Regions from separate parts of the Homo sapiens genome. Here regions 2, 3, 4, 5, 6 and 7 are each linked to region 1. Evidence: promoter capture Hi-C in 16 types of primary human blood cells and fetal thymus (Javierre and others, 2016). All regions are on one chromosome and are shown on one strand. Each heading gives the region's core, a stretch centred on a gene start or on the middle of the fragment in contact. The rest is flanking DNA. Distances are from core to core; before and after follow the strand shown. Region 1 holds the start of MINDY3 (MINDY lysine 48 deubiquitinase 3). Region 2 has its middle 3.2 kb from the start of HACD1. Region 3 overlaps ST8SIA6 (ST8 alpha-N-acetyl-neuraminide alpha-2,8-sialyltransferase 6). Region 4 has its middle 52 kb from the start of VIM-AS1. Region 5 has its middle 34 kb from the start of VIM-AS1. Region 6 overlaps VIM (vimentin). Region 7 holds the start of TRDMT1 (tRNA aspartic acid methyltransferase 1).

Region 1 (3,147 bases), core at 254-2,753:
TTGGCATGCACACTCTGACATGAAGGATAGGTAAGATTTGATTTGCAAAAACAAGGCAAGGGATATTCTAAAGGGAATAAAGATCAAAAGGAATGCTATGGCTCTACTACAGGCACTTTGGGCAAGTCCCTGTAATTACAGTAAAGGGTACTGAAGAAATAAAATTAAATTAATTAAAATAAAATTAGAAATAACGTATAAATAGGAAAAAATAGCTAGTAATAAAGCATAAATTAACAAAACCTTATTTGCAATCTAAAAGATTTTAAATTAAGGGTTAATTTTAATTAGCCAAATGCAAGGGTATTCTACAATGAAACTGCATGTTTTTGAAATTAGAGAACATAACGTATTATACTAAAATACAACTGGCTAGAATTTATGGGTAAAAAAGTCAGAACTACTGTTGCATCAAATTCCCACAAAATGGCTTCTTGAGGTAAAAAAAATACCCACTGTTGCATAAATGCCTTCCATGTGCTAGGAAGTACACCAAATCCTTTGTATGTGTTACTTTTTCCATTTATTCCTTACAATATATGAAATGTATGCAATCTCCCTTTTAGAAAGAAAAAAGCCTAGGTAGATAGTAGGTAACTTGCTAGTAAGTGCAAAAGGTAGGAATATGGGCCAGTATGACCCACAGCTTGGCCTCTTAACTATTGCATTACTGCATCCCAAAGTAATATGGTTTCCAAGGAGTACAGAAACCTTACAGAACCAAAATAAAAGCATGTATTTTTTTTTAAATCAGATTTTGCCCTTTCGTTTTAAATTCAAAGCTCGGGCAATACAAGCCCTCTTTTTTTAAGCAGCACAAACATAAGTTTTCACATGAACTCAATTTAACTGCTAGTTAATGAGTAAAACCTAAACTTTAGTCCAGGTGTTGCCCACACACTCTGCAGTGTCAAAAACTGGAGATGAAAATGCTGTAACATTTACAAACAGGTTGCTCTGAATTTGTTTCCCTACAAATACCTTGTAATTCTGCGTTGCAGCTGGTGGAAGCATTTCTAATGCACATTATGCCACATTCTTTGCCATGTTTTTAGGTAATAGTTGGTCTGACTTTGATTTATTGAAGTACAGAGGCGGACAGCCTCCAGCTTATGAGAAGCGCCCTACAAAGGCACGGATGTTACCGCACTGTGACTCAACTATTGCCTTATAGTTCTAGTTTTGCAAAATTAATATTGAAAAATACAAGCAATGGGCATATGTTCTAATTCCTAGTGCCTGGGCCTCAGAGCCTCCAGCTTAGCCCAGAGCAGTGCGTAGAGGAAGAAGGTATTCCTGGAGTTTAGAAACACGCCGACGCCCCTTCCCAATACAAAAACTACCACCCCACCAAAGGGTCCCAGACAGTTCAGAAAGGTCAGAAGCTACTTCCACCGCTTTCCGTGCCTGTTTCCGCCTCCAATTTCACTTCCGGGGAGGGGACTTCCGGGCCCTCAGCCTTAAGGGGCGGGAGTTAAAGAGGAGTCGGAAGTGGCACCAGCACTTCCGGTACGGAAAACTCGCTGCTGCCCCAACCTGGCTTGACAGGCTTGGTCTCTGCAAGTGGCTCTCAGCCCCTTCTTCTTTCCTGCCTCACCTTCCAATTCGTTTGCCGCCGCCGTCCCGCAGCTGCTGTTTCCGGAGTTGCCCCTTCCCCATGTTCCGGGGCAGGAGTCCGCAAAGCGAAGATCCGCCCGCCGGTTCCTCATCATGTCCGAACTGACTAAAGAGCTGATGGAGCTGGTGTGGGGCACCAAGAGCAGCCCCGGTCTCTCGGACACCATTTTCTGCCGCTGGACGCAAGGTACCCTGGCGGGGCTCTCACACTTGCAGCCGCTGCTTCTTTTGCCCTGCGAGAGTCCGCCTGTGACGCCTCTCGCTCCAGCCCCTCGCGTGCCCCGCTCTCTGCCCCAGTCGCCGTGCTCAGCGCTGAAGCTGGACTTTCTAGACACGCCCTGCCTTGCCTTGGTGGGGAGAGTTTGAGTAGGAGAATGGTTACAGCTGCCACTAAATACCCGCAGCGCTCTTTCCATCCTCCGGGCTGCCCTTCGGCTGGGGAGGAGGAGAGGGTGGCCCCTTGCTGGGTTGCAGGGCGTGACACGGAAGATGCGCCCCGTGCCCCGGTGTCACTTTCTCAAGGGGTGCTGTGGCCTTCCGCATCTTTACCCCCTAACAGAGCTGTCTATTGGTGGTGGTTGGTCTATTTTTGGTGAGAAGGAGGGACGTCCAAGGGAAAGTCCAAGTGGCTAATTCCAAAAAGCAGTTTTTTGTTTGTATTGTCATTATGTGGTTAGGCGTGGTAGTCTGTGTATAAACACTGTTATTTGCTAAAAAGTGTACTCTTGGCCCAAAGTATCCCCGTTTTTTATATGGTTTATTATCTGTCACGGTTAAAAAAGGAATATGGATCATAGTACTTCCTCGGCCGGTATGCTTGTAACCCAGACAGGACTTTTACTTACATGAAGAGTCTTAGTACAAATAATAATGAAATAAAATAAGCATTTATTGAATTCTTGCACTGTAACAGGCTGGGCGCTTTATACTAGTAACTATCCCTAATTCTTAAGTTTGGATAGGCAAACAACTGACACATTCCTAAAGGTGACTTAGGAAAGATGATGATGAGGTTAAAACATAACCTTGAGTCAGAAGGATCAATAATTTATGTATGTAAAACACTATTATTATTAAAACATCTATTTAGGGAACACCTGTTCCCGAAATAGATTGGGCGGAATTTTGGCATAGTAAATATAAACCCCTATTTCAAAACGTGTATTTTGTAACAAAAATTCAGGATTTACGTAATCTCTCCCTCCCTCCCACATGTTTGTTTTAAGAGCTGGTAAAATTACAATTACGATGTATTGTTAAGTTGGGATATTTAGTCCCTCACTGTTGCTTTGCAGGCGAAAAAAATTAGTTGTAAAGGTAAATGACTGGGCCAAAGTTGCACAAATCGATAGAACTGGGAGTGGATTCCAGGTCTCTCGATTCCTAATATACCTCTGTTTTCATTATCTTCCTTTGAGTTCCCAAACCCTACATGTAATGACTTGGGCTCTTTTTTTTCACATTCAATTATGTCAGTTACCTAATCTTGGGCTTCTTAGAGGGAGATTTTATTTTAACACTTCCCACTTT
Region 2 (3,147 bases), core at 381-2,880, 1.8 Mb before region 1:
ACATTTTTCGACAGCTCTTTAGCTCCCAAAGCACTTTGTAATCCTCTTTCCAAATTTATTATATTCTGCAATTCATAATAGAACACGGGCTTTGGAGTCAGTGGTCCTTCAAAATCACCGCCCATTGGCTGAGAAGCTTGGGCAAGTTTCTTAACTTCTCCAGGCTTCAATGAGCTCATTTGTAAAATGTGGATAGTAATACCTGAAAAGATTGTGTGGATTAAATCAGCTGAAGTGTCTGGCACATGAGAGGTGGCATGTTAATAACATATCTTAGAATATATTAATTTGTATGAAATTCTTATCCATTTTATAACAATTGTTAGCTTCATGAAAACAGGCTCCATGTTTCACTCATTTTGGTATCACCTATTTCTACATAGTACATGGTAAATTCACATTTTATAGGGACGATTTTATAAATCTGTTGAAATATTATTTATTCTTAGGGCATTTAAAAGTTTATTTTTCAAAATGTTATTACATTGAACTTTGTAACATGCATTACTGTTGTGAAAATGAGTTCTATCTTGTGGCAGATTCGATGCTTTAAAGGAATATTTGGTAGGGAAACTATTAACTGCAAAATACGAAGGCATTCTGCCACAACATTTGGGTTTCATGTTAAACATATCAGTATTATAAATTCTACACGTTAAAATATGTAGTGTTCATGGCATTTATAAATCAATTTTAATAATTTATACTCAACGAAATGAATCTATCTTATGTGTTCAGTATGATGAGATTTTTTTTTTTTTTGAGACGAGTCTCTGTTGCCCAGACCAGAGTTCAGCGGCATGATCTCGGCTCACTGCAACCTCTGCCTGCAGGTTCAAGCGATTCTCATCCCTCAGCCTCCCGAATAGCTGGGACTACAGGCGTGCACCACCACGCCTGGCTAATTTTTGTATTTTTAGTAGAGACGGTGTTTCACCATGTTTGCCATGCTGGTCTCGAACTCTTGACTTCAGATGATCTGCCCACCTCAGCCTCCCAAAGTGCTGGTATTACAGGCATGAACCACTGTACCCGGCCGGTATGATGAGTTGCAACAAATATGTAGAGCTGTGTAACCACCACAATCAACATGGTGAACATTCACACTACTACAAAAGCTTTCCTGTATTTATTCTTAGTCTAGTCTCCCTACAGGAATCCCCAACTTCAGGAAACAACCTTTTTTGTTTTCTGTCCGTTTAGATTAGATTTTGCTTTTCTAGAGTTTTATATAAAAGTAATCATATACTATATAATATTTTGTGTCTGGCTTCTTTTGCTCAGCACAAAGTTAATGAGATTCATTCATGTGCCATGTACAATAGTATGTTCCTTTTTATTGCTGAGTAATATTCCATTGTATGAATACACTACAATTTGTTTATTCATTCACACATTGATGGACACATGAGTTATTTTCAGTTTGAATTACTATTACTAAAGCTGCTATGAACATTTGGTTTCAAGACTTAGTGTAGACATATGTTTTTATTTCTCTTGGTTAAATACCAAGAGTGAAATTACTGGATCATATGCTAAGTAAGTGTATATTGATGTAAGAAATTGCCAAATTATATTCCAAAGCAGTATTCTTTTTAGCCTTGTATGAGAATGCCAATCCCTGCTAACATTTTAAAATATTAGCCACTTGAGTGGTTGTGTGGTGCTATCTCATTGTGGGTTTAATTTGCATTTCCCAAATGACTAATAAGATTCAGCACTTTTGCATGTGCTATTGGGCATTTCTTTTTTACTTTTTTTTTTTGAGATGGAGTTTTGCTCTTGTAGCCCAGGCTGGAGTGCAGTGGTGCCATCTCGGCTCACTGCAACCTCCGCCTCCCAGGTTCAAGTGATTCTCCTGCCTCAGACTCCCAAGTAGCTGGGATTACAGGGGCGTGCCACTACGCCCAGCTAATTTTTGTATTTTTAGTAGAGACGGAGTTTTGCCATGTTGACCAAGGTGGTCTCAAACTCCTGACCTCAGGTGATCCGCCTGCCTTAGCCTCCCCAAATGCTGAGATTACAGGCGTGAGCCACAGTGCCTGGCCGGCTATTGGCCATTTCTATATCTTTGTGAAGTGTGTATTCAAATCTTTTGCTCATTTCAAAAAATTGAATTGTTTTATTAAGTTGTAAGCTTTCATTATATGTTCCAGATACAAATTCCTTGTTAGAGACATCTGTCGTGAATATTTTCACTTTTTTAATGTTGTCTTGAAAACACAGATGTTTCCCATTTTGATGAAGTTCAATCTGTCTTTTATTTCCTTTTTATGATTAGTGCTTTTTTCTACCTCCAAAATCTTCACCTTCCCCAAAGTCACAAAGATTGTTCTGTATTTTCTTAGAAATTATGTAATTATAGCTTCATGATTAGGTCTGTCATTCATTTCAACTTAATATTTATCTATGGTGTGAGGTAAGATTTATTTTTTGATATGGGTATCCAGTCATTTCATTTACTGAAAAGATTATATTTTCCACATGGAAATTACCTTAGCTTCTTATAAAAATCAATTGACCACATACATATGGGTCTATCCCTGGACTTGATTCTGTTTCACTGATTTCTATGTCTCACCTTATGTGTACCACAGTGTGTTGAAAACTAGTTTTATAGTAAGTCTTTAAACCAGATGTATATGTGCTCCAACTTTCTTCTTCCTATGTACCTCTGCATGAATTTTATAGTTAGCTTGTCAAGTTAAAAAAAAATCTGCTGGGATTTGGAGAGAATTGACATTTAACAGTATGGAGTCTTCCAATTCATGAACAGGCAACAGCTATTTATTTAGATCTTTCATTTCTCTCAGCAGAGATTTATAGTTTTGAGCAATGATTTATAATTTTCAGTGTATACGTCTCACACATATTTTGTGAAATTTATGCCTATATAGTTCATGTTTTTGGATGCTGATTAACGTTGTATGGTTTATTTTAAATTTCATTTTCCAGTTGTTCCGTGTACACATGTAGAAAAACAATTGATTTTTGTTATGTTGATCTTGTAGTTCCAGGAGGTTTTTTTTTTTTAGGATTCCTCGAGATTCCTGGGATTTTCTAGGAAACACATTGCTCTCATTTGCAAACAGTTTTACTTCTTTCTTCCCTTTATTTTATTTTTATTCTTTTTCGAAAAGAAGTCTC
Region 3 (3,147 bases), core at 192-2,691, 1.6 Mb before region 1:
TTGCACCACTGCACTCCAGCCTGGGCAACAGAATGAGACTCCATCTCAAAAAAAAAAAAAAAAGAATTTGGAAATAATGTTATAGAGGTCAAAGGTAAGGCAGTTAAGGCATCAGGTGGGGTGATGGAGAGAATGTTGCTGCAGGCAGAAAGTTAGAAAGTGTGAGCATGACCATAGCTGGACAGAAGGATTCAAGGGAGATTTGCTATCTGTCTGTCCTTGATGTGGGATAATTTTGCAATAACTGTCACGTGGTAGGTACTGGATGAACATGTGTGGTTTCTGCATCACTTTAGTTATCTACAGAGCACCTAGTAAGATATATATTGTGTGGTTCTGAAGATGATTTCAGACAGAGATGTAAGATTCCTGTGAGATTATTGCCTATGTATTTTGGGGCCCATCAGGGATGCCTGACTGCACTGGAACAAGTGATCTATTTTGGTGTGCAGAGTACAAAGGGGTGGGAGGGGCATGCCCCTTTTCTGTAGATGTCGTGTTGTTCTAGGGATGCTGTCTGCTATTGTATTCTCATCAGAGTGGTAGTGGAAGAGAAAGGAAGAGCATCTAGAGACAATGCAAGTAACAACCCAGAAAAGCCTGGAAAGTGAAGAGAACTGCTAGTGTGTGAGAAGATTATTAATTTATTAAAAAGTATATTTGGAGCACCTGTAATGTAAACCCACACTGTGCTAGGCATGCAAAGAACCAAACAGACATGAGGTCTCTAGACTCATGGAGCTAGTTGGAGGAGGGAAACACAAATTACTGAATCCCAGGAATATTAAGTTATGTGCAGGAAATGAAAATAAGATGCTACGAAAACAGATGACAAGGAAACCAACTCTGGGGGATTCCAGAAGTTTCCCCCAAGGAAATTAATTATTAGGATTTCGAGAACAGAAGTGCGCAATTGTAAATATAGTGAATTTCACAAGCTTCCACTTATTTGTTTTAGTACGTGTTTGGAATTTCTGGGATAGCTGCTGTTTCTGGTGCAGTTTCAATGCTTCTGTCTAATTACTTGCTAATTTGGCTGCATAATTTATCAGGTCCATATTTTTTGTTACCAAGCACTCCCTGAGTGTCTCCTTGGCTCCGGTGCAGCCAAATGAATGGCAGTACTATTCTATTAAAATTGCACCCATGCACATTTATTTTCTGTTACATTGAACGGGATTTTCATCATTTTCCACTTGGCTGTATTCAAAGTGAAATTAGCCTTGTGCATCATCCTATCTAGAACGTATTGTTCAATAATTTCTATCCTTTCTATCATTCGCTTCTCTATCTCTTAGCATGCTGAAAATTGTTCAGTATTTCTTGTTTAATTTTGGAAATTTTAGCAAAATTCAGTTGGCTTTTAAGTGATACTCAATCAGTGAAACCCAGTCATTCCAGGTAATTTTAAGTACCATTGACTGTAAAGACATAGACACAGCATCGTCATTAAAGTAGAAGAAGACAAATTGTTGCCCCTCAGAGTCAGTAAAATAGTTTTTTTACAGTCCGTTTCACTAAGTGTTTAGAATGTGTATTACCTGATTAATCAATGTGTCTTGAACCTTGACAATGTCAATGTATTCTCACTGTTCAGTACAGGATTGGCAGCGAGAGAGGAGTAGAATTATTAAGGTCTATTTGCCATGAAGTAGTACATTATCAGGCTTATGATTAAAGTAGCTGTTGGCTAACATTTGGTAAAGAGAAGATCAGAATTATGGGAGGACAGAAAAGGATATATAAATTTTGTCTTTCTGATTCACAGTAATTGGATCTGACTGGCTAACTCTTGTCCCATAAAATAACTCTTAATTACTTGTGGGAGGGGGGAGGTGCTTCAGGCAAAAATGTGGACCAGGGAATAAATTCATTATTTTGGACATTGAAAATGGTATTTCACAAACGTTTTAGAACAGTTGACTCTTTCAAATGTAAGCTTTTCCCTAAAGATTTTTAAATTTATTTTGCTCTTCAATATTCAGTTTTTTTCTCTTTTAGCGTGATTAAAGACTGTTTCTATTGGCTTAAAGATTGTTCTCTTGATTAAAAGTGAAAGAGATCATTGTTAGGTGTTCTCCTTTATTGATGCAGATTTAGGATTGAAGTTATCTTTATGTATGAAATTATAAATTCTATATTATAATAAATAAAATCTATAGTATAGTCTATAATAAATTCTGAAAAGGGCTGTATAAAGCAAACACTTGCAGAATCTTTATTCTTCTCTACTTGTTTCCTTTATACTTTGATGGCTGCGTACCCATGGAAAATATCGTCATCAAAAGGAAATAAAATTGAAGGCCGGGCACAGTGGCACCTGCCTATTATCCCAGTACTTTGTGAAGCCAAAGAGGGAGGATGACTGGAGCTCAGGAGTTTGAGACCAGCCTGGATACCATACTAAAACCCCATCTCTACAACAATTTTTTTTTTAAATTAGAAGGGCACGGTGACACACTCCTGTAGTCCCAGCTAGTGGGGAGGCTGAGGCAGGAGGATCCCTTGATCCCAGGAGGTTGAGGCAGCAGTGAGCTGTGATTACACCACTACACTCTAGCCTGAGCAACAAAGCAAGACCCAGTCTTAAAAAAAAATTAAGTTTAAGACTTGTTCTAATTTGTATGAATCCTTTTAATTCTAAGATCTCACTCATTCAGGGCTAGTTAATTGGGCAATTTATACACACAATTTTTTTGCATGCCTGTTAGAAGCACAGGTCAATTAAACTACATACTATACAATTTCTTTTGTATTACGGACTGCTGTAAATTGGATTTCCTGGGCAACACACTCTGGGATACAGATTTGTATATAGGACACTTATTAGGAAGTGCTCTCAGGAACAATGCCCATGAGGGAAACAGGACTAAGCAGCAGGAGAAGACAGATAGATCCTAATGCAGTTGCAACAGAGGACTCAGCCAGTTCCACAGGGGGCTTGAGGCTGGCATGGCCTTTCCCAGTTGTGTTCTACCCCAGGTAAGGGGCTAGGCATCAGTCAGTCATGACGTGGCTGCCTCTCAGGAGCTGTGATATGTTTTGGCTCTGTGTCTCCACCCAAATCTCTTGTCAAATTGTCATCCCCATGTATCAGGGGAGGAGCCTGGTGGGATGTGATTGGATCATGGGGCTGGATTTCCCCCT
Region 4 (3,147 bases), core at 185-2,684, 1.4 Mb before region 1:
TACAAGCAGGGGAAATGCCAGATGCCTATAAAACCATCAGATCTCATGAGACTCATTCCTTATCACTAGAAGGGTATGGTGAAGACTGCTCCCATAATCCAATTACCTCCACCAGGTTTTGCTCTTGACATATGTGGATTATAATTCAAGATGAGATTTTGGGTGGGGGGCACAGTCAAACCATATCATTCTGCCTCTGGCCCCTCCCAAATCTCATGTCCTCATATTTCAAAATGCAATCATACCTTTTCAACAGTCCCCCGAAATCTTAACTCTTTCCAGCATTAACCCGAAAGTCCAAGTCCAAAGTCTCATCTGAGACAAGGTAAGTCCTTTCCATCTACGGGCCTGTAAAATCAAAAGAAAGTTAGTTACTTCCTAGATATGATGGGAGCACAAGACTTGGGTAAATTCTCCTGTTCCAAATGGGAGAAATTGGCCAAAACAAAAGGGCTACATGCCCCATGCAAGTTTGAAATCCATCAAGGAAATCATTAAATCTTAAAGCTCCAAAATGATTTCCTTTGATTCCATGTCTCACATCCAGGTCATGCTGATGCAAGAGGTGAGCTCCTATGGCCTCGGGCAGCTTTGCTTCTGTGGCTTTGTAGGGTATCGTCCCCCACCTCAGCTGCTTCCACAGGTGGCATTGAGTGTCTGTGGCTTCTAGGTGCATGCTGCAAGCTGTCAGTGGATCTACCATTCTGGAGTCTGGAGGACAGTGGCTCTCTTCTCACAGCTCCACTAGGTGGTGGCCCAGTGGGGACTCGGTGGGGGCAAAAATCCCACATTTCCCTTCTGCACTGCCCTAGCAGAGTTTCTCCATGAAGGCTCCGACCCTGCAGCAAATTTTTGCCTGGACATCCAGGAGGTTCCATACATCCTCTGAAATCTAGGCAGAGGTTCCCAAATTTCAATTCTTGACTTCTGTGCACCCACAGGCTGAATACCACATGGGAGCTGCCAAGATTTGGGGCTCACAACCTCTGAAGCAACAGCCCAAGCTGTACTTTAACCCCTTTTAGCCACAGCTGGAGCTGGCACAGCTAGGATGCAGGGCACCAAGTCCCAAGGCTGCAAACAGCCGCAGGGCGCTGGACCTGCCCCACAAAACCATTTTTTCCTCCTAGGCCTCTGGGCCTGTCATGGGGGTAGGGCTGCCATGAAGTTATCTGTTATGCCCTGGAGACATCTCCCCCATTGGCTTGGTGATTAACATTTGGCCCCTCGTTACTTATGCAAATTTCTGCAGCTGGCTTGAATTTCTCCCCAGAAAATAGATTTTTCTTTTCTCTTGTATTGTCAGGCTGCAAATTTTCCAAACTTTTATGTTCTGTCACCTCTTGAATGCTTTGCTGTTTAAGAATTTCTTCTGTCAGATACCCTAAGTCATCTCTGTCAAGTTCAAAGTTCCACAGATCTCTAGTGCAGGGGCAAAATGCTGCCAGTCTCTTTGCTAAAGCATAGCGAGGGTCACCTTTATTCCAGTTCCCAACAAGTTCCTCATCTTCATCTGAGACCACCTCAGCCTGGACTTCATTGTTCACATCACTATCAGCATTTTGGTCAAAACCATTTAACAAGTCTTTAGGAAGTTCCAAACTTTCCCACATCTTCCTTTCTTCTTCTGAGCCCTCCAAATTGTTCCAATCTCTGCCTGTTACCCCATTTCCAAAGTTATTCCACATTTTCAGGTAGCTTTCTAGCAGCACTCCACTTCCGGTACCAATTTACACTGCTATGAAGAAATGGGTAATTTATAAAGGAAAGAGGTTTAATCGATTCACAGTTTATTATGGCTGGGGAGGTCTCCGGAGACTTACAATCATGGCAGAAGGCAAAGGAGAAGCAGACACCTTCACAGGGCAGCAGGACGGAATGAGAACAAGCAGGGGAAATGCCAGATGCTGATAAAACCATCAGATCATATGAGACTCACTCATTATCACAAGAACAGCATGGGGGAAACCACCTCTATGATCCAATTACGTCCACTTGGTCCATCCTTGACACATGGGGATTACAATTCAAGATGAGATTTTGAGTGGGGATACAGCCTAACCATATGACTATCTGTCTTCCTATCCATATATCTATCATCCATCAAATCATCTATGATTTATCAGTCTTCCTCTCTATCTCCCTATCTATCATCTATTTATCTTCCTATGTATTTATCTATCTAAACATCTATCTATATCTATGTCTATCCTCTATCTTCCTATCTCTCTAACTATCTATTAAATCATCTATTTATCTCTCTGTTTATCAAATCATCTATTCTCTCTCTCTCTCTGCCATTGGTTCTGTTCCTTGGAGAACCCTGACTAATACAAACACACATTAATTAAAATTAAGACTCAAAAATATGTGAAACAGAGAGGCAAAACCATCTCTGATATCTTGTCACATGACACTATTTAATTTTGGAGACCTGCTTTTCATATATTTCTTTATATCCATACACATATAGAATGATGCATAGATATTGATATTGTTTGGCTCTTCATCCCCACCCAAATCTCATGTTGAATTGTAATCCCCACATGTCAGGGGAGGGGCCTGGTGGAGGTGATTGAATCATGGTGGCAGATTTCTCCCGTGCTGTTCTTGTGATAGTGAGGTGTTCTCACGAGATCTGATGGTTTAAAAGTGTGGCACTTCCCCCCTCAGTCTCTCTCTCTTCCTACCATGTAAGAAGTGCCTTTCTTCCCCTTCACCTTCCACCATGATTGTGTTTCCTGAGGCCTCCCCAGCAATATGGAACTGTGAGTCAGCTAAACCTCTTTTTTTATAAATTACCCAGTCTCAGAGAGTTTTTTTTACAGCAATGTGAAAATGGGCTAACAGAGATACCATACATATTTTTTAATCTTGGGTCTCTCTCTCTCTCTCTTTCCTTCCCAAACATTGGCATTACTACCATCTCTCTCCACCACCAGAAGAAGCAGGGTACCTTGTGTACCAAGCTACTGAGCATCCTTCTGGACCTTCCTTCATGCTTTTGTACAAGCATAAACACAGACACAATGTGATTTAACTTTTTTTTTTACTAAAATGAAATCATATTATGGAAATTCCTCCATATCTTAGCTTTCTCACTTAATAATACATTGAAAAATTCTTCTGATTTGATCTATTTAGATC
Region 5 (3,147 bases), core at 416-2,915, 1.4 Mb before region 1:
TATTTCTGACTCATGAAGATACATCTCATGGAACTCGTGCCTTGACATGAATTTCTAGGCAATATCAGCTCTGAGCTTGGCTACACCCCAGACTTTGCAGAGCAAAACAAAAGCAAAAATAAAGGAGGCAGTGGGGAAAGAATTCCTTGAATAATCCATATCATAAACCATCACACAAAAACCACACTGAACTTCTTTGAAGCCTGAAATCTCTGAAGCTGACCAGTAGATAATTAGATATTTACATTCTCTAGAGTTCTAATTTAAAGCAGAAATGATGGCAAAGAAATCAGATGAGACAGTTTGCTAGTTTACCAGACACAAAAACCGTGTGTGTGTGTGTGTGTAAAATCTTATTTTCCTTTCTGAAAATCTGGAGCAGATTTTTTTTTCTTTTGAGATGGGGTCTTACTCTGTTGTCCAGGCTGGAACGCAGTGGCATGATCTCAGCTCACTGCAACCTCCACCTCCCAGGCTCAAGCTTGAGCAGCTTTTCTGAAAAGATCACTCACTCCTGATAAAATGAATTTCCAGGAACCACAGTATAAGATACATCAAGTCCATAGAATCCATAGATGGACTACTGTTAACCCTCAGATCAGAGTCATAGAATTTAGTCTGCCTACTAAAGAAAAGAGAAGAGGAAGCAAAGCAACACCTATTAAGCCCTCGTTTGAGGCCCTCCCTGTGATAGGTGCTTTTATTTGTGTTTGTTTTTAAAGTGAAGAAAGATGCTTAAAAGGGAGAGCAAAGAAAGATGACTTAGAATAACCAGAGTGCCAGATGCTTGCTTTGAGTTTACAGCTTGACTCTATCACAAGGTAAAGGATATAACCTTAAACTAGAGAACACTCTTTCATAGTCTCCACTCTAAAATACAATCTCTATTTAGACAACTAATGGTCCTTAAAATGTCTCATCAAGGAAGCTGTGGAACACGTCTAAAATGTAGAGTTGTTTTTCCTTTCTTTTTTCCAGGTAATAAACACTCGACATTTAGAAAATGCAGTTCTAAATTTACGAAGAACACCACGTTTTCAGCTGTGCTCACAGTCACACACGTAAATATTTCTTATTAAACAGGCTTCCATTTATTACTGTGGGAGTTACTGTCAGCTTTAGAAAGGAAGATTACTGCCTGTAATCTCTCTGTCTGTAAATGGAGAATAAAGTGATATTCAATTTAAAATTATGGAAAGAGAGATAACTACTTTGTAATTACTTACCCTGCCTTTCTTGGTGACTCATGTACCTCGCACAATTATGAATCATGGTTTAAATTGTATTCCCTCAGATCATCACAAGAAGGTTGGCAGTAGCTTTAGCAAAAAAAAAAAAAAAAAAAAAAAAAAAAAAAAAAAAAAAAAATGCAGGCTTGGTTCATCAGGGTCTTAGTGGCAAGCCAGATGTTATGGGAAGTCAGGGATCCCGAATGGAAGGACCGGCTGGAGCCATGGCAGAGGAGCATAAATTGTGAAGATTTCAGGGACATTTATCACTTCCCTAATAATATTCTTAAAATTTCTTACGACTGTCTTACTTTAATGTCTTAATCCTGTTATCTTCGTAAGTTGAGGATGTACGTCACCACAGGTCCACTGTGATCATTGTGTTAACTGTAAAAGTTGATCGTAAAACATGTGTTTGAACAATGTGAAATCAGTGCACCTTGAAAACAAACAGAATAACAGCGATTTTAGGGAACAAGGGAAGACAACCATATGGTCTGACTGCCTGTGGGGTCGGGCAAAAAAAACCATATTTTTCTTCTTGCAGAGAGCCTACAAATGGACGTGCAAGTAGAAGAGATATCGCTAAATTCTTTTCCTAGCAAGGAATATTAACATTAAGACCGTAGGAAAAGAATTGCATTCCTGGGGGGAGGTCTATAAACGGTCACTCTGGGAGTGTCTGTCCTATGCGGTTGAGATAAGGACTGATATATGCCCTGGTCTCCTGCAGTACCCTCAGGCTTACTGGGATTGGGAAACCCCACCCTGGTAAATTTAAGATCAGACTAGATCTCTGCTCTCGAACCCTGTTTTCTGTTGTTTGAGATGTTTATCAAGACAATACGTGCACAGCTAAACATAGACCCTTCTCAGGAGTTCCTGATTTTGTCCTTACCCTGTTTCCTCAGAAGCATGTGATCTTTGTTCTCCTTTTTGCCCTTTGAAGCATGTGATCTTGTGACCTACTCCCTGTTCTTGCACCCCCTCCCCTTTTAAAATCCCTAATAAAACTTGCTGGCTTTCAGGCTCAGGTGGGCATTACAGTCCTACTGATACGTGATGTCACCCACAGCGGCCCAGCTGTAAAATTCCTCTCTTTGTGCTCTTTCTCTTTATTTCTCAGACCCGCCGACACTTAGGGAAAATAGAAAGAACCTACATTGAAATATTGGGGGCGGGTTCCCCCAATACCACAGACTCCAACTCTAGCTATCTTGAACTGCATTTCCAATTTATTGGAATGAGATGGCAGATGGACGACCAGGCTTGGAAAAAACAGCCAAGAAGTCTGGGGAAGCTAGAGAGCTGGAATCACACAAAAGAGCACGCTGTGTCTAGTCCATAAATCATCAACCATGTGGCCGTGAACATGAACCTCAGACATCTCTCTACCTTCCTAACACTCACTGAAGATTTGAAGTCCAAGGAAAGAGTCCTCCATCCCTGACTGCTTTGTGGTAGAAAGAGGAATTGTCTGTTACTTAGATTTCAGTAGAAAGACTTCCACACTATGGGAGATTTCCTAAAAGGGAGAATAGGGTACTAACAGGAGAATAGTGTTGCTGTTGGACGATGCTTTGGATGACATTATATGCTCAACATTCAAGGACAAGCTTATCTAAAATAGAGAATATAATATATTCTTATATTTAATCTTATCTCTTGTTATAAGTAAAATGTTTATTCAGAAACAGAATGCTTGTTCCTCGGTACTGCAAGGAAAAATCACCATTCAGCCAAAAAGTTTTCTCAGCAAGGCAAATTTACTTTCTGCAGAAAGGGTGCTCCTCGCAGATGGAATAATGGCGAGAAGGAGGGAAGCAATTTTTATCCCTTAAAGTGCTTGCCCTTGCTACTGTGTCCTGTCTCCATTGGCTGGAGCCAGACCACACAATCTAAACTGAACCTGATTGAC
Region 6 (3,147 bases), core at 183-2,682, 1.4 Mb before region 1:
GTAGAGACGGGGTTTCGCCTTATTGGCCAGGCTGGTCTTGGACTCCTGACCTCAGGGGATCCACCCACCTTGGTCACCATGCCTGGCCTCCATCTGTAAAGGATTTTTAAGAGTGGGAGTCTACTAATCTCAATAGGTATGAGCAGAACTTGCTGTCCTGGTTCTTTTCCCCTGAAAGAAAACTGTGGCTTGTTTTTCAATTTTTAAAAAAATAATAATGAGTCTGGTGTGTGAAGAAAGCCAATATGGGGCTGGGGTCTTCCCTGGATGACCCTTATAAGCCAAAGGTGGGATACAAGTGGAAGAGGAGACAGGGATCCTAGGGTTAGGAGGCTGCGGGGAACAGTGGTGAGAATGGCTAAAGAACAGAAAGCAAAACGAAAAATCAAATAGAAAAGGTTTCATAAGGGCCCAAAGACCTGGATGTTTACACTAATAAAATTAATTATGCCATTGTCCATGTCAGTTGTTTGAATATGGGGGCTGAGGGGACAGACACATTTTCTGTAAGATTATTCTAAGGGTAGCATGACCTGACCACATACAATCTATTGTCCAAACTGTTATTATTAATAATTATGCTTACACAACAGTCATAAACCAAGAATGTCCCAAGTAAACTAGAATGTAAAGTTTACTTTTACATTTAGAATTTACCTTTAGAATGGCTAGGAGTTACTTCAGCAGCCAATCCTTTTTTTCTTTATTTCTAAGACAGGATCTCGCTCTGTCACTCAGGCTGGAGTTTAGTGGTACAGTCTTGGCTCACTGAAACCTCTACCTTCCAAGCTGAAGCAATTCTACTGCCTCTGCCTCCAGAGTAGCTGGGGTTATAGGCATCCACCACCACGGCTGGCTAATTTTTGTATTTTTTGTGGAGACAGGATTTCGCCGTGTTGGCCAGGCTAGTCCGGAACTCCTGACTTCAAGTGATCCACCCGCCTCAGCCTCCCAAAGTGCTGATATTACAGGCATGAGCCACTGCATCCAGCCCCAATCCTTTCTTTATTCATGCAGTACCCACGGTAACCAAAATGATGAAAATCACAGTGAACATTCCTGCAAATGGGCAGGGCTTTGTGAGAACCATCTCACTAGTTAACTCCAGAGAGAGGCAGATGCAAACACAGAAAAATTATGACAATGTCTACCACATCATTCTCGGAGGAGAGAAGATAATAATATTTCCATAATTTGAAACTTAGAGATGTCCGAGAATGTACTCGAAGTTTTCACTCCAGAACACACATTATTGACCATTACTACACTATTGCCTCTTGGCAATACCTTCTCTCGTCTATTTATGTAAGTTCTATGCTCACACTGAGTGCTTTCTAGGGAGCTTTCCATGACTGCCCCACTTCATTTTTATTGCTCCAGACTTTGAAACCTTATTACACCTACAGTTAGCACCATGCGATTCACATGTAATAATCTCATCTCCCTGGAAGAAAAGGTAGGAGGTTTTATTTTGTGCCTAATGCCATTCTCCAAACACAAAGGTCTTTACAAATATCTGTATCTATAGATAGATGGATATAGATATAGCTATCACACACACACACAATAAAGCAGAACGGTTTCATATATTAAATCTTGGTGAACTAGGCTGAGTGTGGTGGCTCATGCCTGTAATCCCAGCTTTTTAGGAGGCCGAGGGAGGATCACTTGAGCACAAGAGTTCCAGACTAGGCTGGACAACACTTCCAGACCCCATCTCTACAAAAAATTAAAAAAATTAGCCAGGTGTGTGGCTAGTTTTGGGAAGACAACTCACATTTTAGGCTAAAGTTAGACATTCGTTTATTTGTTTTGAGTACTCCTAGCTACTGAGGAGGCTGAGGTGGGAGGATTGCCTGAGCCTAGGAGTTGTTGGCTGCAGTGAACTATGATTGAGTCACTTTACTCCAGCTTGAGTGACAAAGTGAGATCCTGTCTTAAATAAAAGAAAAACTTGGTGAACTTTTTCCATTTCTCTGCATCTTGCTAGCGGAAGATAAGCCCCTATATCTTGGCAACTTCCTATGCTTTAACTCCCAAAGTGGAATTTGTGTTACTCATATGCTATATGTACTAAAAAAAGTTTTTATTTTTTAATTTTAGGAAGTCTGTTTGTTATGATTAAAATCACAGACCTGAGCTCATTTTAGAGAGACCTATCTTCATTTTGGTACAAGTTATTTTATTCGACACCACCTATTTGTAAATGTTTTTAAGTAATAATAAAAAGAAGTGAGGTCTATCAAAAATGACAAAATTAAGAACTACATCTCAAGCATAAATAACCTGAATTTATCAACTTACATGATTGTAATGACAAATTAACTAATAGGACCAAGTAGAGAATTGTTTAGATATTATCCAATAAATAACACAACAAAAGAGTTTTTCCAAAGATTTATTGAAGCAGAACCAAGTTGGTTGGATACTTGCTGGAAAAAAAAAAGCAGTTTTAATGGTATTCAAAATACCTTTTAAAAAGTATTCTAGCACAAGATTTTTCTGTAAACTAGATTATGTTGTAAACTTTTTTCTAAATCTTGTAGGAGTGTCGGTTGTTAAGAACTAGAGCTTATTCCTATTCCAAATCTATCTTGCGCTCCTGAAAAACTGCAGAAAGGCACTTGAAAGCTGTTTCTTTAAGATATGGATTTCTTTTTTATTCTTGCTGGTAATATATTGCTGCACTGAGTGTGTGCAATTTTTATTCAAGGTCATCGTGATGCTGAGAAGTTTCGTTGATAACCTGTTTAAAAAAAAAAACCAAAATAAATATAATGCCACATGCCAAAGACTAAATTATCCTATATATCACGGCAAATAAAAATCCTGCTAAATATATGTAATTTATTGTGCAAATCAGAAGGTTATGTTGCTTCTGCATGAGTGAAAACTAGAAGGGGCAGACACACAAGACCCTCTTCCACTACAGGCAATATAAGGATCCAGTGGAATGTTGTAACTTACAAAAAGAAATTTCTTAAAAAACTGTGTTTATAAAAGATGGTATAATAGTTGTACACAATACAGCCAAGTTTAAAAGCAATTAAGACATATTAAAATGTGCAGCAGGTACATTTTAAATTTATGTGCAAGGGAAGATTTCATGATGACTACAATAAATTGCAACTATTTCTTTCCTGGCAT
Region 7 (3,147 bases), core at 429-2,928, 1.3 Mb before region 1:
GTGTTGGGAACAAAGAGAAAAACACTTCACAACGGGAACATTTTCTATCCTCCATATGGGTACATTATTTTTATTTATAATTGACTGTAAACACCGCTCCCCCCACAAAATTTCTAAGCTCCCCCCAACTGACTGATTGAACACCTCCACCAAGCGGATTCCAAAGAAACTTGAAAAACTAGTTCAGGCCATGCTGGGAAAGGGAAGTCAGACATGCCTCATTATACTTTCCTCTCTTTGGAGTTCAGGCACAACTGACCAGTATTATTATTAAAACAAGAGATCTTCATACCGACATAACAGACTCTTCTTAGCAATAAGATACCAAAATTCCAACATGACTCTAGTATAGCATCACATGAAAGATAGCAGGCCCTAAATCAAAGCATTTTACCCTAAAATAAATTTCTTTGACACTTTTTGAAATGGCCCTACACAGCCATCTCTTGTGGGGAAAATCTACATTCTATAGAGACTCCCTTTCCCTTTCCAGGTCTTTTCCTGATCCAAGAGATATTTAACTAAGAGTCTGGCATCTTTTTACACATGATAAGAGACATTTGCCAATTATTCTCTCTGAAGCCTGTTACGTATGAGACTTCGTCTACATAATAAGAACCTTGGTCTCCACCTTATCTTAACCCAGACACATTCCTTTCTATTGATTCCAGGTCTTTAGGTCACAACTTAACTCTTTCAACCAACTGCCAATCAGAAAATCTTTGAATCCACCTGTAACCTGGAATCCTTCCCCTTTTTGAGTTGTCCCATCTTTATGGACCAAACTAAGTACACCTTCCATATACCAGTTAATGTCCTTATGTCTCCCTAAAACCATATAATCCCAAGCTGTAGCCCAACCACCTTGGGTACATGTTGTCAGGACCCTGTGGGGTTGTGTCATGGGTCACGGTCCTCACCTTGTGCTCAGAATAAACCTCTTCAAACATTTTACGGAGTTTGGCTTTTTTCGTCAACATGAGCCTCTAACAGTTGGTTACTGGATCATCCTGAGGAATCAAGGCCATAGCACTTAAAGACCCATAAATAATCCTACATGATATTCACTGTGTATTCTATGTAGGTGTAATTTCCAAGCTAAAACATAATTAACCCCACTAATAGACACAACAAACATCCTCTGTATTATCAGCACGCACACAGGGCTTTCTCTGCTGCGAGTGGACTTGTGTCCTTACTTATAATTCTGGAATCTTCTCTAGGGGAGAGGCTGGTCTAATTTCTCTCTATTGACCCAGGGCAGGCAGGAAACAAGGCACACTGTGGAAAGAATGTTTGAATGTTCAGGCTTCTAAGTGACAGAAAAGCAGCTTGTCTGAAAAATGATTTTTTTCTGGCTTCTAACCAGTGTTAATTCACTTGGAAACCAAGGCAGTTTTCTCCCCTTTACTGAACTCTGGATTTCTTTTCCAATCAAGGCCCCTGACACCAAAGAAGGAAATGGAGCGTAAATCAGGCTACAGAGTGGCTGCCATTCATTCGGGAAGCCTTATTGTTTTCCGTCCTTTGTTCCCCTCTAGACCCTTGCCAATCCCCAGGCCGCGAGGCCCTCTGAAGCCCTGAGCCTGGAGCGGTAGGAGACGGGGGAACTGAAACGCCGCGGAACCAGAGGCTGAGGGAGCGGCGCGATGGAGGGAGGAGGAGCGACGGACCGGCAGGCCTAGCTCCGGGGCTGCGGCGGCTGAGGCGCGGGGATGGAGCCCCTGCGGGTGCTGGAGCTATACAGCGGCGTGGGCGGCATGCACCACGCGCTGAGAGGTGAGAGTCCATCTAGCACCCCTCTCTCTATTCGCTCACGGGGGCTGGTTGGAGCACCCGCGCCGGGAAGGGGCGGAGCGGCGAGACGCAAGGGGCGGACACTGTGGGGCGGACACTGTGGGGCGGCCCTCGGTTGTCCTGGAAACAGCTCCTGCGCGCCGCCGTGTCCACCCCTCCAGACGCTGACTCCCTTCTCCTGGCGCCGAGTCTGGCTCGAGGGGCCGCACATGGCGCCTCAAAGGGCCCAGTTGGGAGTCGGGATTCGCAAGGCAGTAAATCAACCTCAAAGGGTATCAAAGGGGCGAGACCCTCGCCTGGTGCCAAGCCCCCATTCTAAGTGTGCAGCCACCGAGAAGCATGGAGACTCGGTCCTTCATCCTGGGGGGCTTCCCAGCTGGGGAGGGAGGGAGTGTCAGGGGCTCCCCTGGTGAGAGATGGATCTTGGAAGGGATAATAGCTACAATTCAAGGTAGAAGTTTGCGAATGCTAAATAGGATGGTAGAGGAAGCTTGAAGAACTTGGACGTCTGATCGTTGGAAAGAAACGTGTCTTCTGTAGTTCTGCGTTTAGATGCCAGAGAACTGAGTTCCAGCTTGGTGGCAGTGTGACGTTGGGCTACTTCGTGAACAGTGATGAACCTGTTTCCTGGTTTTAAAAGAGAATGATTATTATAAGGATTAAAGTCTGTCAAGTGCTTGTTAGTGCCTGATACATTGTAACCACTCCAAATATTATACATTATTATCACTATTACTTTAAAACGACATCACGAGATATTATCAAGCAAACTATTACTTTTATGCACGTCTTTGATTTTGAGGTTTTTGATTTCTTTCATGCTGAGTTGGAACTGAAAGTTTTACTTTTGGTGATATTCACTCAAAATTATTTATTGAGCTCCTATTCTGTGCCAGATTTTGTGCTAGGAGCTGGGGATACAGAATGACAAACAGGCTTTGAAGGTGCATGTTTATTCTTAAATTACTAAGACAACCACCGAACTGAAACTTCCCTGCTTCCTTATTTAGGACCAAGAGTAACAAGAGTAACTGTAAGATACAGACAATATTTAATGGGTTTAGCGTATAAGTTTTTTGAGCAGATTTATTGAGTTTCAATTCTAGACTAGGTTAATGATCATTAAGTTTTTAGTACTTGTTTGCCGGCTATCTTTATTTCTCATTTTAAAACTTAGCAGCATCAAAGCAAAACTCTAGTACTATTTACTCTTTGTTAATTCTCTAAAGTGATATAATGTCCGCGTTTTCCCATATCTTGAAACTCCTTAATGAATTGCTTAGTACTTTATCATAAGCTGTAATTCAGCCATTCCTTAAGTGTCGAATATTTAGATCATTCTTCAGTTTT

The links. The method cuts DNA at HindIII sites, captures the fragments that hold promoters and counts their contacts. A CHiCAGO score of 5 or more calls a contact.
Region 2: a contact is called between a fragment that was not itself captured here and the fragment with the promoter of MINDY3 in region 1, in 1 of 17 cell types (activated CD4 T cells). The highest score is 5.1, in activated CD4 T cells.
Region 3: a fragment that was not itself captured here is called in contact with the fragment with the promoter of MINDY3 in region 1 in 1 of 17 cell types (activated CD4 T cells); the score reaches 7.7 in activated CD4 T cells.
Region 4: a contact is called between a fragment that was not itself captured here and the fragment with the promoter of MINDY3 in region 1, in 1 of 17 cell types (endothelial precursors). The highest score is 5.1, in endothelial precursors.
Region 5: a contact is called between a fragment that was not itself captured here and the fragment with the promoter of MINDY3 in region 1, in 4 of 17 cell types (naive CD8 T cells, endothelial precursors, total CD4 T cells and 1 more). The highest score is 6.8, in naive CD8 T cells.
Region 6: a fragment that was not itself captured here is called in contact with the fragment with the promoter of MINDY3 in region 1 in 4 of 17 cell types (total B cells, naive CD8 T cells, naive CD4 T cells and 1 more); the score reaches 6.6 in total B cells.
Region 7: the fragment with the promoter of TRDMT1 here is called in contact with the fragment with the promoter of MINDY3 in region 1 in 7 of 17 cell types (total B cells, non-activated CD4 T cells, naive CD8 T cells and 4 more); the score reaches 11.3 in total B cells.

Annotation. Positions count from the first base shown.
Region 1 is chr10:15,858,863-15,862,009 of GRCh38, reverse strand. MINDY3 (MINDY lysine 48 deubiquitinase 3) reads left to right here and starts at 1,503. Exons shown (of 15, transcript NM_024948.4): 1 at 1,503-1,804. The coding sequence starts at 1,711. RefSeq lists an enhancer at 1,712-1,761. The HindIII fragment of the contact is 10,196 bases long and covers 1-3,147 here.
Region 2 is chr10:17,619,038-17,622,184 of GRCh38, reverse strand. No RefSeq gene overlaps it. Among named protein-coding and RNA genes, the nearest start is that of HACD1, 3.2 kb to the right of the region's middle. The HindIII fragment of the contact is 1,019 bases long and covers 1,121-2,139 here.
Region 3 is chr10:17,421,022-17,424,168 of GRCh38, reverse strand. The region is part of intron 2 of ST8SIA6 (ST8 alpha-N-acetyl-neuraminide alpha-2,8-sialyltransferase 6); the gene reads left to right. Among named protein-coding and RNA genes, the nearest start is that of ST8SIA6, 32 kb to the left of the region's middle. The HindIII fragment of the contact is 1,001 bases long and covers 941-1,941 here.
Region 4 is chr10:17,280,479-17,283,625 of GRCh38, reverse strand. No RefSeq gene overlaps it. Among named protein-coding and RNA genes, the nearest start is that of VIM-AS1, 52 kb to the right of the region's middle. The HindIII fragment of the contact is 5,419 bases long and covers 1-3,147 here.
Region 5 is chr10:17,262,564-17,265,710 of GRCh38, reverse strand. No RefSeq gene overlaps it. Among named protein-coding and RNA genes, the nearest start is that of VIM-AS1, 34 kb to the right of the region's middle. The HindIII fragment of the contact is 2,364 bases long and covers 484-2,847 here.
Region 6 is chr10:17,236,829-17,239,975 of GRCh38, reverse strand. It overlaps VIM (vimentin), which reads right to left. Exons shown (of 10, transcript NM_003380.5): 10 at 2,383-2,746. The coding sequence ends at 2,705. Among named protein-coding and RNA genes, the nearest start is that of VIM-AS1, 8.4 kb to the right of the region's middle. RefSeq lists a silencer at 912-1,206. The HindIII fragment of the contact is 3,798 bases long and covers 1-3,147 here.
Region 7 is chr10:17,200,203-17,203,349 of GRCh38, reverse strand. TRDMT1 (tRNA aspartic acid methyltransferase 1) reads left to right here and starts at 1,678. Exons shown (of 11, transcript NM_004412.7): 1 at 1,678-1,779. The coding sequence starts at 1,716. RefSeq lists a silencer at 1,981-2,040. The HindIII fragment of the contact is 5,194 bases long and covers 1-2,289 here.